Linked DNA regions of Homo sapiens: region 1 is linked to region 2. Evidence: promoter capture Hi-C in 16 types of primary human blood cells and fetal thymus (Javierre and others, 2016). All regions are on one chromosome and are shown on one strand. The core of a region is centred on a gene start or on the middle of the fragment in contact, and the rest is flanking DNA. Distances in the headings are between cores, read along the strand shown.

What was found. Contacts are between HindIII fragments. The CHiCAGO score rates a contact against its expected background, and 5 or more counts as called.
Region 1: a fragment that was not itself captured here is called in contact with the fragment with the promoter of LIMD1-AS1 in region 2 in 3 of 17 cell types (fetal thymus, erythroblasts and megakaryocytes); the score reaches 9.5 in fetal thymus.

What each region holds. Positions count from the first base shown.
Region 1 is chr3:45,043,259-45,046,371 of GRCh38, reverse strand. No RefSeq gene overlaps it. Among named protein-coding and RNA genes, the nearest start is that of CLEC3B, 19 kb to the right of the region's middle. The HindIII fragment of the contact is 1,682 bases long and covers 767-2,448 here.
Region 2 is chr3:45,686,669-45,690,253 of GRCh38, reverse strand. It overlaps LIMD1-AS1 (LIMD1 antisense RNA 1), which reads left to right and starts at 1,372. Exons shown (of 3, transcript NR_033947.1): 1 at 1,372-1,878. It overlaps SACM1L (SAC1 like phosphatidylinositide phosphatase), which reads right to left and starts at 858. Exons shown (of 20, transcript NM_014016.5): 1 at 757-858. The coding sequence starts at 788. It overlaps TRR-ACG2-1 (tRNA-Arg (anticodon ACG) 2-1), which reads left to right and starts at 1,183; the gene lies at 1,183-1,255. RefSeq lists a silencer at 667-846 and enhancers at 877-1,166, 1,427-1,476, 1,987-2,056. The HindIII fragment of the contact is 5,339 bases long and covers 1-3,585 here.

The DNA.
Region 1 (3,113 bases), core at 358-2,857, 640 kb after region 2:
AAAGAAAGTACAATGTTAAGTGTATGTAAGCCCCCAGTTGGGCTCCATCCACCTCCACCCAGCTCTGTGCCCTGGGAGTCTGACCAGACTGCATTGCCCGGACCCACGGCTAGCTGGCTTCCAGCTGGCTTCCCCCAGTGGAAAGCACCTGCAAGAGTTAAGAGGTTGTACAGAGGCAGGTGCTGGGCTCTTTCCTCCCAGTCTCCTCTGTGTGCTTTGCTGCATTTTCTGTCTATGGCTATGTCCTCCACCGAGAGATCGCTTATTGCGTGGACCGGCTATGGCTCCAGCAGCATTATTTCCTCCTGTGGCCTTCTGCCTGACAGGGTACTTCCCGCTGTGGCCAGCCTCTGAATGCCTTAATATCCCTTGTCGTTTTGCTGAATAGTACCCAGAGCTGTGTAAGTATGGGAAGCACTCACTTTGCACAGTAGTCTAGGACTGTAAAATGGCCATGTAAGCTGAAACCATGCAAAACAATCTTAATAATCGATGGGGAAGAGGACGATTGTCCTCTGACCTTTCAAAAATGTTTGTCAAAACATTAAACTTTCTTACTGTCAGTAAGAGAAAAAGTCGCAAAAATTGATATTAAATACACTAATTGAAAACATTAGAAACATTGGAAATTAAAGTGTTTTCTTTGTGAAAATCTTACCGAGAACCGTTTGGACAGTGCTTGCCACTTCCTTCCCATTATATATAGATTTCGATTCAGTGGGTATCTTTTCTATTCCCGGAAAATTGTCATCCTCCTTCTCAAGCTTGGATTAGTTCTTACATTTTATCTTTCTTGCTTTCAATGTCACAAAATATCTCTAAGAATTCCTTTTCGTGGTTTTTTGCTGGCATCATTTCCTCCAGGACATCTTTATCCTTTTTGCCACAGGCACTGTTGTCATTTATGTAGATAAGCTCACGGTCACTACGTTCCTCTGGTTGCATATCCAGAACTTCAAACAGCAGCAGCATCCACCTTCCCACAGTCAGCTTTTTCTTTTCTAACTCCATTTATATTCTACACAAACCTCACTTCCATCATTCTCACTTTGCATTTCTTTGCTGCATTTTTATCTTTATTAGTCAGTTCCCTCTTTCAATTATCCATTTTTGTAAACTGTCACATGAATTTCTCACCAGAAGACAAAGTGCAACACAACTACACACTGTGCTGCCAGTGGATGAGCTGAATAACAGGCACATGGTGCCCAGTCACCAATACACTTTGAAAGAAGCAATGTGGTGGGTCACTGATCATGCAGCATATCTGTTAGTGATGTGTGGCCTGAAGAGTTAGCAGTGAAATTATACTTTAGCAAGGGGCCAGGTGCAGTGGCTCACACTTGTAATCCCAGCACTTTGGGAGGCCGAGGGGGGGACATCACTTGAGGTCAGGAGTTTGAGACCAGCCTGGCCAACATGGTGAAACCCCATCTCTACTAAAAATACAAAAATTAGCCAGGTATGGTGGCATGTGCCTGTAGTCCCAGCTATTCAGGAGGCTGGGGCTGGAGAATCACTTGAACCCAGGAGGCAGAGTTTGCAGTGAGCCGAGATCATGCCACTGCACTCCAGCCTGGATGACAGAGCAAGACTCCATCTCAATAAATAAAAAATAAAATAAAATAAAATTATACTTTACCAGTATAACAATGTAGCTGAAATTTGAACTATCTGGTTGGGGGACTGTGTTATTTAACTAAAACATGATCATTGATATTTAAGCATATCAGAACTGTATAAATTGAGGACTGCCTGTAATCCTTTCAGTCTTTTTTTTTTTTTTTGAGACAGAATCACACTCTGTTGCCCAGGCTGGAGTGCAGTGGTGCGATCTCGGCTCACTGCAACCTCTGTCTCCTGAGTCCCAGTGATTCTCCTGCCTCAGCCTCCCAAGTAGCTGGGATTACAGGTACGTGCCACCATGCCCAGCTAATTTTTGTATTTTTAGTAAAGATGGGGTTTCAGCATGTTGGCCAGGCTTGTCACAAACTCCTGACCTCAGGTGATCTGCCCACCTTGTCCTCCCAAAGTGCTGGGATTACAGGCTTAAGCCACCAGGCCCGGCCTCATTACAGTCTTTTGAACTGAGTTGGAATCTGTTTCCTACTGGGACATGACTGGTAAAAGGGTGCAACTAACTCTCCAAGGGAGTGGGAGAATAAAAAAGCTGTGCAAAGTTTAGTCAAGCTCTGCCACAGAGTCACAGAGCCAGCAATCAATGATCCTACCATGCAGGAATAGGCAGGTAGGAAGCTACTTAGGGGCATAGCACTCTCCTAGGTTCATGCTCTTTAAGAAGAGGCCTCTTGAGAGGGCTAATTCCAAAGCAAAGGCTGAGAAAGCCATGCTTAGGAACTAGGAATTTGTTGAAAAGGAACTAGGATTTAACCCAGCCGCACAATTGAAAACATTCTTCCTCTACTGAAAGACTCATAGGAGCAAGCTTTTGGGAACCAGACGGATGAGTCATCATTTAGTCTTCAAGATCTTTTAATTCTCCTGCCCCCTAGTTTCCAGTTCCCTCCAACATTCAGGCTTTGGGTCTGCAATGGCTCCATGACACAAACTTCTAGTTGCTTCCCATTTGCCCTTTCCTTAAAGAGTTTAATTTAATTTGGGTGTCAAGGTAACTACTTAAAAGATTGCACTTCTCAGCCTTCCTTACAGCTACACACTGGAAAAAGTTCTGGCCTATGCGATAGATATAAGGAAAAGAGAACACTCCTTAAAGGAAGCTGACTGGAGGCCAGGCACGGTGGCTCATGCCTGTAATCCCAGCAGTTTGGGAGGCCGAGCCGGGCAGATCACCTAAGGTCGGGAGTTCAAGACTAGCCTGACCAACATGGAGAAAACCCGCCTCTACTAAAAATACAAAATTAGCCAGGCATGGTGGCGCATGCCTGTAATCCCAGCTACTAAGGAGGCTGAGGCAGGAGAATCGCTTGAACCTGGGAGGCAGAGGTTGTGGTGAGCTGAGATCACGCCATTGCACTCCAGCCTGGGCAATAAGAGTGAAACTCCATCTCAAGAAAAAAAAAAAAAAAAAGGAAGCTGACTCGACCTTTCTTACCCATTCTTCCTTTCTGAAGTGGGGATAATAATGGCTGGAG
Region 2 (3,585 bases), core at 123-2,622:
ACACATGTTGTTTTTAATCCAAGACAAACCAAAACCCTTAAAAACACCTATTTTATAACTCTTAACAACCACAGCCTCTGTATCAAAGACTCAAGAACTTGGATTTACCGAAAAGTCAATTTGCAGTACCAAAATTACCGAGATTAGCCTCTGGCTGTCGACACTGACTTAAGAACCTGCTTTAGGCTGGAGCTGTTTAAAATTTAAACCAAAGTAAACTCCTTCAGGACCTTAAGACTACTGACTGTACTTTAAATTTTTTCTGCACACTGAAGAGGGGGCAGGCAGGCTTCGGTACCCAGATAGGCTGTAAGCAAAACAAAGATTTGTTGATTTGTGCGTAGACTCTAAATTGCTGCTGTAGGTCCGTTAAGTAAGAGAAAACTCTTTTTCTCTGTTAAGTCATACAGATAAATTTAGTCGGTAGCTCTGCATAGAAAGTGGGGACAAGCGTGCCCTGAAGGGCCGCATCATAACGCCGACCCCGGCTCGGTGGGGGCCAGTCGGCAGCTTCTCTCTTCAGCCGTGGGCGCTGGGGCCGAGCACGGTGGAGAAAGGCCGGCGAGCCGCTGGTTCCCGGCCTATGGCTACTCGGGCGAGGCCTAGGAGAGGCCGCGCCGGCTGAGGAAAACCGGTAAATGCGAGGAGCTCCCACACCCTATCTGCAATCCGGGACTCAGAAGCCCTCCCCGAGGCCAGGGCCCGCACCTGCCGCCCCGCCCGCCGCGCCTCAGGCCTCTGGCCCGTGGGACTCACAGCTTCAGCTGCTCGTAGGCCGCCGTCGCCATCCTGCACAACCACCTCCTTCCTTCTCTCTCCGCCCGCCCCGCCCCGCGCCGCCACCTCGGCTACAACTCTACCGGTCACCCTGGCACAGCGGCCGCAGCTCCCAGCCTCTTCCCACCCCTTTCCCCGCCCCGCAGGAGAGCCGGCCTGAACGGGAGGCGGTGGAGGACAAATTAGTGCGCAAGCAAGAGCACGCGAGAGATGCCGCCGACGCGGCGGGTTGGAGTGCGACGAAGAGCGCCGTGACGAAGCCGCTGCGGATTGGTGGGGCGCGTTTTGGGGAAAGGCAGAGCAGCGGGAGCGCGGCGCAAGGGCAAAATGGATCGTTGGTACCCGGAAGCCCGTTCAAACTGTATAAGGGTGATCAGCTATCACGGAGAAGGCTTTAGCAAGTCGGGGCCAGTGGCGCAATGGATAACGCGTCTGACTACGGATCAGAAGATTCTAGGTTCGACTCCTGGCTGGCTCGCGATGTCTGTTTTGCCACACTTGACCCATGTACTACTGGGTCTTGTAAAGATGTATATTCACAATGTGAAAGTATTACAAGACCTTGGAAAGGTGTATGGTTAGAATGTGAAAGTTAAATATCTGAAATTTTGATGCCGCTTTGCTCACAATGTCATCCTTTATCCTTTAAACCTGGAGTTGTCTGAGGTGGTTTGCAAACTGCAAAGCGCCCTGTTCCCAATGATGCACCTGAGAAGTCTGTAAATGGGGTAAATTTAGGCAAACACACCTGGAAAAGTGGCATTTTGGAGTGGGGAATGCTGTGGCCGGAGGTTAGCAACCGGATGATGCAAAAGCGTATTTAAGGCAGCAGTTCTGGCCTTTCCCCGCCACGGAGCAGAAGCCCCCATAGTGATGTGAGAAGCGGCGCTGTCCCAGTTTACTAGGATGGGATGGGCTTTGGATCTAACCAGCAGCGAAGAAAACCTGCGGTGCGGCTGCGCTCGGTAGTAGGGGTCCACAAAGCGTCAGAATCTGCAGCAGCCCCGGCCTTTGCGAGCTCCAGCTCCGAAGTCAACCCGGCCCCCAAATTCCACTGGGAAACCTTAAGACACCGGTGTTTTTACCGTAAGAAGACCTCAGGTAATCTAGTATATTACCCCTCATTGTATGGATGCGCGACTTGGACACCCGAGAAGGCGCGAAACGTCTGCGGCCTAAAGGGACTCGAACCGGGGGATTATATGAGTCATCGGACACTGTCCGTTAACCAATCACTCAATCGATCAATTAATTTCCGCAACATAACGTTTTCCCCTGATAAAATTATAGATTTTTAAAATATATAAAATTATTGGGAATATTAACGCGATTCCCACCCTAAATCATTACTATTATTTTTTTTTTCCTTAAAGCCTTTTTTTCTTCTATATTTTTTAACATGGGCATACTTGCACATGTGTTTTTCCAAATTGGGGTTGTACGGAAATGGGTTCCTCATTTTGTCTCCTTACCTTTTTGTCTGAGATTTAAGGTCATTAAATATTCTTTGAAGATATTTCATCAGAGAGCTAGATATTTTAAGCAGAATCCTTATGCTGGGAATTTGGGTGGTTGTCAGTTTAACACCTAGAAAAAATGATGCTGCTTAGGAGTTCGAGACCAGCCTGGGCAACATAGCAAGACCTCATCTCTATTTACTAAATAAATAAATAAATTTTAATTAGCCAGGTGTGGTGGTGTGCACCTATAGTCCTAGCTACTCAGGAGGCTGAGGTGGGAGGATCACCTCAGCCCAGGAGGTTGAGGCTGCAGTGAGCTGTTACCATGCCACTGCACTCCAGCCTGAGCAACAGAATGAGACCCTGTGTTGAATTATTATTATTTTGAGACGGAGTCTCGCTCTGTCACCCAGGCTGGAGTGCAGTGGCGTGATCTCGGCTTACTGCAGTCTCTGCCTCCCGGGTTCAAGCAATTCTCCTGCTTCAGCCTCCCAAGTAACTGGGACTACAGGTGTGTGCCACCACGCCCGACTAATTTTTTGTATTTTTTAGTAGAGACGGGGTTTCACCGTGTTAGCAAGGATGGTCTTGATCTACTGATCTCGTGATCCGCCCACCTCAGCCTCCCAAAGTGCTGGGGTTAGATGTGAGCCACTGTGCCCGGCCGAATTATTTGTCTTACAAATTTCTAGAGGTGGAACGACCAGGTGGACATCTGTAAGGTCCATTTTATGGACATTTTTAAGACTTTTGTTACTTTCTGACTGCCCTCCAAAAAATTAAACCAAAACACACTTCCATCAACAGCACCTGTTTCTCTGTTTTCGTGCATGCTAACCAACACTGGCTATTATAAATTTAACCGTGATTTGCAATTTTCATAATTGGAATATGGAACTTCCTTTTACATGTACTTTATATATTTTCTCTTGATGTATTGAATTTTTTCTTACAAATTTGATTTTTTAATATATTAAGGGTATTAACTCTTAAATACGTTGCAATCTTTTTTCCAGCTTATGATTTACCTTTTCAAAATTTTTTTAACGGCTGGGCACGGTGGCTCATGCCTGTAATCCCAGTGCTTTGGGAGGCCAAGGCAGGTGGATCTCTTGAGGTCAGGAGTTCGAGACCCGCCTGGCCAACATGGTGAAACCCTCTCTCTATTTAAAAATACAAAAATTAGCAAGGCATGGTGGTGTGTGCCTGTAGTCCCAGCCACTCAGGAGGCTGAGGCAGGAGAATTGCTTGAACCTGGGAGGTGGAGGCTGCAGTTGGCTGAGATCACGTCACTGCACTCCAGCCTGGGTGACACAGTGAAACTCTGTCTCAAAAAAAAAAAAAAAAA